2 separate regions of the Homo sapiens genome follow, and region 1 is linked to region 2. The links are contacts of gene promoters, found by promoter capture Hi-C in human tissues and cell types (Jung and others, 2019). All regions are on one chromosome and are shown on one strand. Each heading gives the region's core, a stretch centred on a gene start or on the middle of the fragment in contact. The rest is flanking DNA. Distances are from core to core; before and after follow the strand shown. Region 1 holds the start of GNG14 (G protein subunit gamma 14). Region 2 holds the start of RAD23A (RAD23 nucleotide excision repair protein A).

Region 1 (5,445 bases), core at 660-3,159, 260 kb after region 2:
AGTCCCCTAGGGGGAGCCTAGGGCTGCCCGAGGGTTCCCACACCTCCTTCTATGTTCCTTGGGGGCTGCAGGATGAGGGTGGCTGCTCCTGGACCCATCAGGCCCACACACCTCGGCTAAGGGCTCCGGCCCAAGTCACCTCTGGCTGCCTGGTCCTCTGGTGGCCACCCTGCTGTGGCTCCCTCCCCAACCCAGCCTGTCCTCTTCAACCCCCTTTTCTCCCTCGGCTACCCCTGCAAAGACTTTGAAGCCAGGGCTCTCATGGAGTGAAATGTCACCAGCTGCAGCAGCAGCTGCTGCCTCGGCTGAGGGGGTCCCTGCCCCAGGAGGCCCTGTGGCTCCTCTGGTGTCATGTGTCACCTGGGTCCCTGTGGGCTAGGTGCCTTGGCTGGGGGAGTGAGGAGGCCCTGGCCTCCCCCTGGCCTGCTGGATCTCCTGCTAACTGTTCCCAACACATCTGCTTTGTCAGCCTCTGCCATCTCCAACATGCAGCCTTGCCTCTCCTCCTGTTGTCGCCACTGCTCAGGCTCAAATCTCCAATGCCTTCGTTCTTTTTTTTTTTTTTTTTTTTTTTTTTGAGAGAGAGTCTTGCTCTATCACCCATGTTGGAGTGCAGTGGTGCGATCTCAGCTCACTTTCAACCTCCACCTCCCGGGCTCAAGTGATTCTCCTGCCTCAGCCTCCTGAGTAGCTGGGATTACAGGCGTATGCTACCACACCCGGCTAATTTTTTTTTTTTTTTTTTTTTTGAGATGGTATTTCGCTCTTGTTGCCCAGGCTAGAGTGCAATAGCGTGATTTCGGCTCACTGCAACCTCCGCCTTCTGGGTTCAAGCGATTCTTCTGCCTCAGCCTCTCGAGTAGCTGGGATTACAGGCATGTGCCACCATGCTCGGCTAATTTTTTGTATTTTTAGTAGAGATGAGGTTTCACCATGTTGGTCAGGCTGGTCTTGAACTCCTGATCTCAGGTGATCCACTTGCCTCAGCCTCCCAAAGTGCTGGGATTACAGGCATGAGCCACTGCGCCCGGCCACACCTGGCTAATTTTTGTATTTTTAGTAGAGAAGGGGTTTCACCATGTTGGCCAGGCTGGTCTCGAACTCCTGACCTCAAGTGATCCACCTGCTTCGGCCTCCCAAAGTGCTGGGATTACAGGTGTGAGCCATCGTGCCTGGCCTTCTTTTCTTTTTTTAAGCCCAGGTTCTCGCTCTGTCGTCCAGGCTGGAGTGCAGTGGTACAATCATAGCTCACTGTAACTTCAAACTCCTGGGCTCAAGTGATCCTCTCAACTCAGCCTCCTGATTAGCTAGAATTATAGGCGTGAGCCACCGTGCCCTGCTAATTTATGTTTTTAACTTTTTGTAGAGATGGTTCTTACTATGTTGCCCAGGCTGGTCTTGAACTCCTGGCCTCAAACGATCCTCTTGCCTTGGCCTTCCAAAGGAATTATAGGCATAAGCCACTGAGCCCTGCCCCGAGATTCTAATATGTGCCCAGCACTGTGCAAAAACCCAAATTAGCAATGAAACAAGACAAAACCTTGCCCTCATGGAGCTGCCTTTCTAGTTAGGCAGGGATGGACAACAGAAAATGTACTCAGTGAAAGAGTATACATGTGAAAGGGCATATGAAAGAAGAATAAAATCAAAGTAAAGGGGAGAGGAGTGGTCAGGGCAGGCCTCTCAGAGGAGGTGACATTTGAACTTAGGCCCAAAGGAGGAGAAGGAACTGAGAAATGGGGTGTTCTAGGCAGAAGGAGCGGCAAGTACCTGACTCCTTGGACAAAAAAGAGCTTGGTGGGTTCCAGGAATAGCAAAGAGGTCTGTGTAGCTGGAGAGGAGAGAGGGAGGGAGGGCCAGCATGGTGGGAGATGGCAGCAGGGAGGTTGAGAGGTGCCCTTTAAGGCCACTGTGAAAAGCTTGGATTTTACTCCCAGGGGGAAGCTACCATTAGGAGGTTTTAACAGTGACATGTTTGATTTATGGTTAAAGAGCTGTGGCATGCACCTGTAGTCCCAGCTACTGGGGAGGCTGAAGTGGGAGGATCACTTGAGGCCAGGAGGTCGAAGCTGCAGTGAGGTGTGATTGTCCCACTGCACTCCAGCCCTGGTGACAGAGTGAGACCCTGCATCAAAAAAAAAAGCTCAGCGGCTGGGCACGGTGGCTCATGCCTGTAATCCCAGCACTTTGGGAGGCTGAGGTGGGCGGATCACGAGGTCAGGAGATCAAGACCATCCTGGCTAACATGGTGAAACCCCGTCTCTACTAAAAATACAAAAAATTAGCTGGGCGTGTGGCGGGCGCCTGTAGTCCCAGCTACTTGGGAGGCTGAGGCAGGAGACTGGCGTGAACCCGGGAGGTGGAGCTTGTAGTGAGCCGAAATCACACCACTACACTCCAGCCTGGGCGACAGAGCAAGACTCCGTCTCAAAAAAAAAAAAAAAAAAAAAAAAGCTCTCTGATTTTAGCTGTTAGGTGGGAGATGGGTTGGAGGATACCAAAGCCAGCTTGCAGGCTATGGGGATAAAGAAAACACCTGGATTTCGGACCTACTTTATAGGTAGAGGTTGGCAGACATGCTGAGAAGGATGGATGTGGGGTGTGAGAAAAGGGGAGACAGCAAGCTGCGCTCCTCATTTTTAATTTTTATTTATCTATTTTTGAGACGGAGTTTCGCTCTGTTGCCCAGGCTGGAGTGCAGTGGCACCATCTCAGCTCACTGCAACCTCCACCTCCCGGGTTCAAGTGATTCTCCTGCCTCAGCCTCCTGAGTAGCTGGGATTATGGGTGTGCGCCACCACACCCGGCTAATTTTTGTATTTTTTAGTAGAGACGGGGTTTCGCCATGTTGTCCAGGCTGGTCTCTAACTCCTAACCTCAGGTGATCTGCCCTCCTTGGCATCCCAAAGTGCTGGGATTACAGGTGTGAGCCACCGCGCCCAGCCCCAATCCCTATTTTTCAGTCTAGTGGATGAGTGGAGGGTGGGGCCGTTTGCTGAGATGCAGAAAGATCAGGGATAGGTGGAGAGGGAGCTGAGGGGGCAACTTTGAGGTCCAAGCGAGGATGTCAAGGAGGATGTCTGTCTCCTCCAACAAGGTAGGCTCATTCCAGCCTCACGGCTTTTGCTGTTCTGTCTTCCCATGTGCAGGAAATGGCCTCTCTGCATCTTCACATACGGGGATTTTCTCAGCCTTCTGGCTTTGGCTCAAATCTCACCTCCTTGGCGTCCTTCACCCATCCCTCCAACTAAAATCCCGAACTCCTCCACCTAAAGACTCAAATTATCCTGTTTAAATCCTGATTGCGCTGGGCGCGGTGGCTCACACCTGTAATCCCAGCACTTTGGGAGGCCGAGGCAGGCAGATCACCTGAGGTCAGGAGTTCGAGACTAGCCTGACCAACATAGTGAAACCCCATCTCTACTAAAAATACAAGAATTAGCCGGGCGTGATGGCTCATGCCTGTAATCCCAGCTACTCGGGAGGCTGAGGCAGGAGAATTGCTTGAAACTGGGAGGCAGAGGTTGCGATGAGTGGAGATCGCGCCATTGCACTCCAGCCTGGGCAACAAGAGCGAAACTCTGTCTCCAAAAAAAACAAAAAACAAAAAAGGCCTGATAGCACTCACCACTATTGTTAACTTTCTATCTTCCCAATCAGATTGTGGGCTCCAGTAGGGCAGGGTCCACATCTTGGTCTTGTTCACCACTAAATCCTTAGTGCCTAGCACGGAGCCCACCATAGAGAATAGACTACATGAATTGTAGAGTGAGTGAATAATCCTGTTGGCCGTATGCACTGTTAGGAGGGTGTGTTTGAGATACAGATGACACCCAGGGTCTCACATTCTTGCAGGAGGGAAAGAGACGTCAGCCCTGGGTCCCAGAAGAGGCCACTGACCCAGTGGGAGTTCAGGGAAGGCTTCCCAGAGGAGGTGGAGGTGACAGCTGCAGCTATAAGGGAAGGAAGAACAGAGCGTTATGCAGCATGTGAAGGCTTTGGAGACTTGTGAGGGCACGAACCGGGCTCACTATCCCATTAGACAAAAGTGGCTGAGGAAGGATGAAACTGTGTCTAACTCTGCCTGGTGACCGAAATCTTGTCCATGGGTGACGCTTAAGAAGTGACCCTCGGCCGGGCGCAGTGGCTCACGCCTGTAATCCTGGCACTTTGGGAGGCCAAGGCGGGCGGGTCACGAGTTCAGGAGATCGAGACCATCCTGGCTAACACGGTGAAACCCCATCTCTACTAAAAACAGAAAAAATTAGCCGGGTGTGGTGGCGGGCACCTGTAGTCCCAGTTACTCGGGAGGCTGAGGCAGGAGAATGGCATGAACCTGGGAGGCAGAGCTTGCAGTGAGCCGAGATTGCGCCACTGCACTCCAGCCTGGGCGACAGAGCGAGACTCTGTCTCAAAAAAAAAAAAAAAAAAAAAAGTGACCCTCATAAAAAAATTAGCTGGGCACGATGGTGCACACTAGTCGGAATGCTGGGGTGGGAGGATGACCTGAGTCCGGGAGTCAGAGGTTGCAGTGGGCCGAGATCGCGTCACAGCACTCCAGCCTGGCGACAGAGTGAGACCCTATCAAAAAATAGCAGCAGGCCAGGCGCGGTGGCTCATGCCTGTAATCCCAGCACTTTGGGAGGCTGAGGCGGGCGGATCACGAGGTCAGGAGATCGAGACTACCCTGGCTAACACGGTGAAACCCCGTCTCTACTAAAAATACAAAATATTAGCCGGGCGTGGTGGCCGGCGCCTGTAGTCCCAGTTACTGGGGAGGCTGAGGCAGAAGAATGGCGTGAACCTGGGAGGCGGAGGTTGCAGTGAGCCGAGATCGTGCCACTGCACTCCAGCCTGGGAGACAGCGCAAGACTCTAGCTCAAACAAACAAACAAACAAAACAGCAACAACAACAACAAAACCATCCTCCCCTCCCGAGGGGACAGAACAGAAACGAATGGGCGAGTGCCGGGCCAAGCAGTGGGTCTCCAGCAGGTGGCATTAAAATAGGAATTTTGGCTGGGGACGGTGGCTCACACCTGTAATCTCAGCACTTTGGAAAGCCCAGGCGGGCGGTCACCTGAGGGCAGAACCAGCCTCGCCAACATGGTGAAATGCCATCTCTACTAAAAATAAAAAATTAGCCAGGCCTGGTGGTGGGTGTCTGTAATCCCAGCAACTCGGGAGGCTGAGGCAGGAGAATCGCTTGAACCAGGGGGGCAGAGGTTGCAATGAGTCAAGATTGCACCACCGCACTCCAGCCTGCGTAACAAGAGCGTGTAACTCTTGTCTCAAAAATAAATTAAATAAATAAATAATAAAAATAAAAAAGAATCTTCATTCATGGGAAGTCGAGAACACATGAAAACAAGTAAAGGCCGAAGCGCAGTGGCTCACGCCTGTAATCCCAGCACTTTGGGAGGCTGAGGCGGGCGGATAACCTGA
Region 2 (5,418 bases), core at 946-3,445:
CTCCCCAGCTCGTCCACCCACCCTCCCAGCCAGCACACGTCACCCACCTTGGTCACCATGACGACCACAAAGTTCTTCTCATCGATGCGATAGTCCCTGATAGGGACATCGTCACTCAAGATCTTGCCGGCATAGATGAGTTTCTGTCCAGCCACGGGGAAGGCATCACGACCCTTCTCAGCTTCTATCTTCTCCTTTAGCACCTTCACCTAGAGGGAGTGGTACAGACAGTCACTGGAGACCCCAAGATTCTCTTTTCCCTTCTAGTTTAGGACAGAGAAACTGCCAGCCCTGATGGCAGAAAGGCAAGCACGCTGGGTTTTTTAAGCTTTCTCAGCATCTAAAGCATGCTAGATTTGAATTCATTCAATCATCATGCCATTCAACACAGTATTTACTTATACTAAACACCCATTATGTGCCAGGTGCTGTTTTAGACACAGAGGCCACAGCACAGAACAAACTCAACACAAGTAAGTCCCTGCTCTCAATGAGAGAACACTAATGTGAAGAAAATGTAATTTCGGGTAGTATAAAGTATAATTAACAGAATAAAGGGGACAGTCCCCCACTCTACACTCTACCTTGGACAATAAGTGACTAATAGTTAATAGTGATATTTTTTAATTTTAAGAGGCAGGATCTCGCTGCCGCCCATGCTGGATTGATGTGGCACGATCATCGCTGACTGCAGCCTCAAACTCCTGGGCTCAACTGGTACTCTTGTCCAGCCTTGGGAGTAGCTAGGACTAAAGGTACACACCACCACTCCAGACTAATTAAAAATAATTTTTTTTTGTAGATAAGAGTCTCCCTATGTTAGACTGGCTGGTCTCAAACTCCTGGCCTCAAGCAATCCTCCTGCCTCTGCCTCCCAAATCATCAGGATTAGAGGCATGAGCCACCGTGCCTGGCCAATAGTGCTACTGTAAATGTATATGTGTCATACCTTTTAAGTTTCCTATGAAATACGTTTAATTGGTCTCATTTTATTTATTGATTTTTGTTTCTTTTTTTTGTAGAGAACGGGGTCTCACTGTGTTGCCAGGATGATCTCGAATTCCTAGGCTCAAGGGCTCCTCTTCCCTCTGCCTCCCTAAGTGCTGGGATTACAGGCGGAAGCCAGCAGGCGACCGGTTCATTTGATATTTGAGAAAACGGAGGCACAGACAGGTAGGCAGGTTAACTTGCCCAAAGCCAAACACTTGAGCGGATCAAAAAATGTGTGTTTCCTTTTCTACAAAAAGTGGACTTCAATGTCTCCCTCACTATGCAAAAAGCGCCAAGTACCCAATAGACATTCAGTATGTTTGAATTAGGTCCTAATTCTACTTTTGACTAAAAAGGCAGCATAATATTTATATCGTGGACGCTCACACGAGGCAGAACCGAATTTGAATCCCAGCTCTGCCATTACTTGTGTGTGACTGTGGCAAAGTTCCTCAATCCCTAGGTTTCCACATCTGTAAAATGATCAGAGGTCCCCAATGACAAGCCCGTTTTGCAGAGCGGTAAAACAACACTACAACACTCGGTGACTGATAAAAAGTAAACGGCCAACAAACACGGACCACCAAAATTATAAAGACTGAGACCCGTTTATTATCATTAACATCGTTGTTGTCGTCACTACTCAGTATCTCCTGGTCATTACTCCTAGATTCGACCACCAGTGTCCCAAGGAGACGCCTGCAAAGCTGGGAACGTGGAGCCCAGTCTTGGAGAGCTTGGCCTGCCCAGGAATCCGAGCTTGTGACTCCCGCGCCCCGCGAGAGCGCTGACATTGGAGCCGGGGCCTGGCCAGCGCCCCGGGGGTGGGGCCTCGCCCGGAGACCGGCGCAGGAGCGCCGCCCGATCGGCTGGGGGCTGGGCCAAAGACCATCGGGGGGTCCAGGAAAGTCGGGCAGGTCGGGGGTCTGGGCAGGGCCGACCCGCGCCGTCCTCCCTGCCCCTCCCGTTGGGATTCTAGCCTCCCCGCCCCCACCCCACCCCCGAAACCCGTCGCTCCCGCCCCCGGGCTCCGGCCCGGCCCGCACCGTCTCGTCAGGCTCCATGCGGATCTTGAAGGTCTGCTGCTGCAGCGTTTTGAGCGTGATGGTGACGGCCATGGCGGGGCCCGAGCGACGCGGCGGCCCCGGGATCCTCACACAACATGCAACTCACGCCGCCGCCATCTTAGCGCCCAGGCGCGCCGCGCCGCGCGCCGACCACTTCCGGGGCAGGCAATGCGCGCGCTGACCACCGGCGCACGTGACCTGCGCACTCCCTCCTTGGCCTTTGTGGGCATGCGCACGAGCGCGTTCTCGAGCGAGGCACGCGCAGACTAAACTCCGCGCTGTGGGCGGGGCTTCTTGCTCGGCCCGCACACGTGGTCTCCTGAGTGACGCCATGCCCGTTATCGGTGACGTCACGGGGCTGCAAAGTGACTCTGGTGTCCCCACTCTCACGCTCAAATGAATTTTTAACAAAGTTTTTATGTACCTGTACTGGTTACAGACATTTGTATTTCTTCTGTAAAAACCTCATTTTGCCTCTTCCAAATGAGAATTTTTTCTTTCAAACAGTCTCTGTCACCCAGGCTGGAGTGCAGTGGCGCGATCTCGGCTCACTGCAGCTTCCGCCTTCCGGGTTCATGCAATTCTCCTGCCTCAGCCTCCCGAGTAACTGGGATTACAGGCACCCCCCACCACGCCCGGATAATTTTTTGTATTGGGTTTCACCGTGTTGGCCAGGCTGGTCTCAAAACTCCTGACCTCAGGTGATCCACCCGCCTCGGCCTCCCAAAGTGCTGGGATTACAGGCGTGAACCACCGTACCCGGCCCCCAAATGAGTTTTATTCTGGTCTGGGTATCCTGGCAGGAACCCTTGTAGAGCAGTCAAAGTGAAAGTTACTCAAAACTAGAAATACCTGAAAGGCCACCAAGCACAGAAAAAAAACCTTAAGTTGGAAGCGGGGGCAAGGTGCCATTTTGTAGCCTCATTCATTCTTTAGGGATCTGGAGTTTTGGAATGAACCTACAATTTTCATTCTTGGGTCTCCGGGCAGGAGTACTTTGTTGTACTATACCTAATCTGACCCCAGAAGTATTTAAAGATGTTAACTTTCAAAGCCTCACTACATTAAATACAGAATTCTCCCTTGGATCTACCAGTCCTGGAGGCATCCCAGAGGGGTTGGGCTGAGCCACAGGACCCCAAAGGAATAGAAGCATGAAAAAGGCCAGTTTAAGGGGCAGGGTGAACCAGATTGAGCCACTGTACGCCAGCCTGGACAACAGAGCGAGAGTCTATCTTAAAAATAAATAAATAAGCAGAACCAAAACTTACCAGTTAGGTTCAAGGATTCAGTAAGTTAGTATGTGGAGTATTTACAGCAGCAACAGCCATTCCCCCGTTGGTTTTGAGGGTTATGGGGTAAATAAGGGTCCCTGGAATCTTGTGGAACACTCAGCAACCTCTCTAGCAATAGCTGAAAAAGGAGATATACTGGAAACCCCCCCCCCCCCCAAAAAGACCACTGCTGGGTTTCCTTAAGTCTGTCTTTCCCCAGAAGGAGACACAGGAGGGAGACACAAAATTTAATTTAATAGAAATTTTGTTTGTAGTTCTTACATTCTCAGTGTGAGCCAATCTGGGACCCACTGCCCCACCCAGAAGTGGCCCAGTCCTGGGGGCAGGGGAGAAAGGGAGGGGTGAAATGAGAAGAGCCCCGTTCTTCCTCAGTGCTGGGGGGTTGGAGACACCACCCCCTTCTGCTGCCCTCCTCTGGGCTCCAGGAAGGAGAGCAGATGAAATCTCAGGCCTGTGGCTTCTCCACACCACTGCCCCCCAGGTTGGAGGGGAGCTAAGAGATGAGAGAAGGGGACAGAGGCAAGAAAAGATGTTGATCAAGAAAGATGAGAACCAGGGGTGAGGGCTGAAGGAGAATCAAAGATAAAATACCAGTTTAAAAAAAAAAAAAAAAAAGGGCGGGGAGGGGGTGGGGGAGAGTGGAGGAGGGGAACAAAACCAAAATCCACCCCAAATCCGAACCAGCCTGGAAAAAAATGAAAGTTCTCGAGTCTCACAGAGACATTATTTGGCGCGGCCAGCTCTGCGGCAGGAGCGCTCAGGCCTCAGTCCAGCCCTGGAGGCAGGCCTCTCTACAGCTCGTCCTTGGCCTGGCCGGGGACATCTTCCTCCTCATCTTCCTCCTTGTCCTCCTCATCCTCCTCATCCTCATCTTTGTCCTCATCATCCTCCTTGTCCTCTGCCTCCTCCTCCTCTTTGCGTTTCTTGTCTTCTTCCTCCTCCTTAAGCCTCTGCTCCTCGTCCTGTTTGTCCTTCATTTGTTTCTCTGCTGCCTGCAGGCAGAGCACACACCTCAGGGCCTTGCCCCCTGCCAGCCCTGCCCGCCCCCGACATCAGGACCAGGACCAGGCCTCACCTTTGTTACGCCCCACGTCTCGTTGCCAAACTCCTCAGCGTATGCCTCATCGTTGGTGATGAGGAAGTTGTCAAAGATGGTGCCAGACTTGACCTGGAGGATGAATGGGAAGGATGGTCAGAGGTGATACCCGATAGCCCTTGCTTTGGACAGGGTTTCCACCTGTGTTCCTATAACCACTATATTCTGCTGCCTGCATCTGCAGAGAAGACAAGGAACACCGCTGACACTGCAGTTAAAAAGATGGAGAGGCCAGGTGAGGTGGATCACGCCTGTAATCCTCGCCCAGAGGCCAAGGTGGGCGGATCACGAGGTCAGGAGATCGAGACCACCCTGGCTAACACGGTGAAACCCCGTCTCTACTAAAAATACAAAAAATCAGCCAGGCGTGGTGGCAAGTGCCTGTAGTCCCAGCTATTTGGGAGGCTGAGACAGGAGAATGATGTGAACCCAGGAGGCGGAGCTTGCAGTGAGCCAAGATCGTGCCACTGCACTCCAGCCTGGGTGACAGAGTGAGACTCCATCTCCAAAAAAAAAAAAAAAAAAAAAAAAGATGGAAAGATGGAGAGACAGCCAGGGACGGGACGGGCTCATGCCTGTAATCCCAGCACTTTGGGAGGTCATGGCGAACGGATCACTTGAGGCCAGGAGTTCGAGACCAACCTGGGCAACATAGTGAAACTCTGTCTCTACTAAAAAAAATTAGCCCGGGGTCTGTGATGGCGCATCCCTGTAATCCCAGCTACTCAGGAGGCCGAGGCAGGAGAATCGCTTGAATCTGGGATGCAGAGGTTGTGGTGAGCCGCCGAGATTGCATCATTGCACTCCAGCCTGGGCAACAAGAGTGAAATTCCATCTCAAAAAAAAAAAAGCCCAGCGTCGTGGCGCATGCCTGTAATTCCAGCTGCTCGAGAGGATGAGGCATGAGAATCACTTGAACCTGGAAGGCAGAGGCTGCAGTGAGCCGAGATCAAGCCACTGCACTCCAACC

Evidence for each region. Contacts are between HindIII fragments. The study calls those that stand out against the background at their distance.
Region 1: a contact is called between a fragment that was not itself captured here and the fragment with the promoter of RAD23A in region 2, in 1 of the 25 tissues and cell types used here (dorsolateral prefrontal cortex).

Annotation. Positions count from the first base shown.
Region 1 is chr19:12,682,563-12,688,007 of GRCh38, reverse strand. It overlaps GNG14 (G protein subunit gamma 14), which reads right to left and starts at 10. Exons shown (of 1, transcript NM_001316692.2): 1 at 1-10. RefSeq lists enhancers at 4,385-4,907, 5,431-5,445. The HindIII fragment of the contact is 4,816 bases long and covers 1-4,317 here.
Region 2 is chr19:12,942,639-12,948,056 of GRCh38, reverse strand. RAD23A (RAD23 nucleotide excision repair protein A) reads right to left here and starts at 2,195. Exons shown (of 9, transcript NM_005053.4): 1 at 2,037-2,195; 2 at 48-209. The coding sequence starts at 2,108. It overlaps CALR (calreticulin), which reads right to left. Exons shown (of 9, transcript NM_004343.4): 8 at 4,428-4,520; 9 at 3,568-4,344. The coding sequence ends at 4,144. RefSeq lists enhancers at 1-778, 2,094-2,313, 1,725-2,417 and silencers at 1,408-1,702, 1,674-1,733, 1,754-1,943, 1,954-2,033. The HindIII fragment of the contact is 31,996 bases long and covers 1-5,418 here.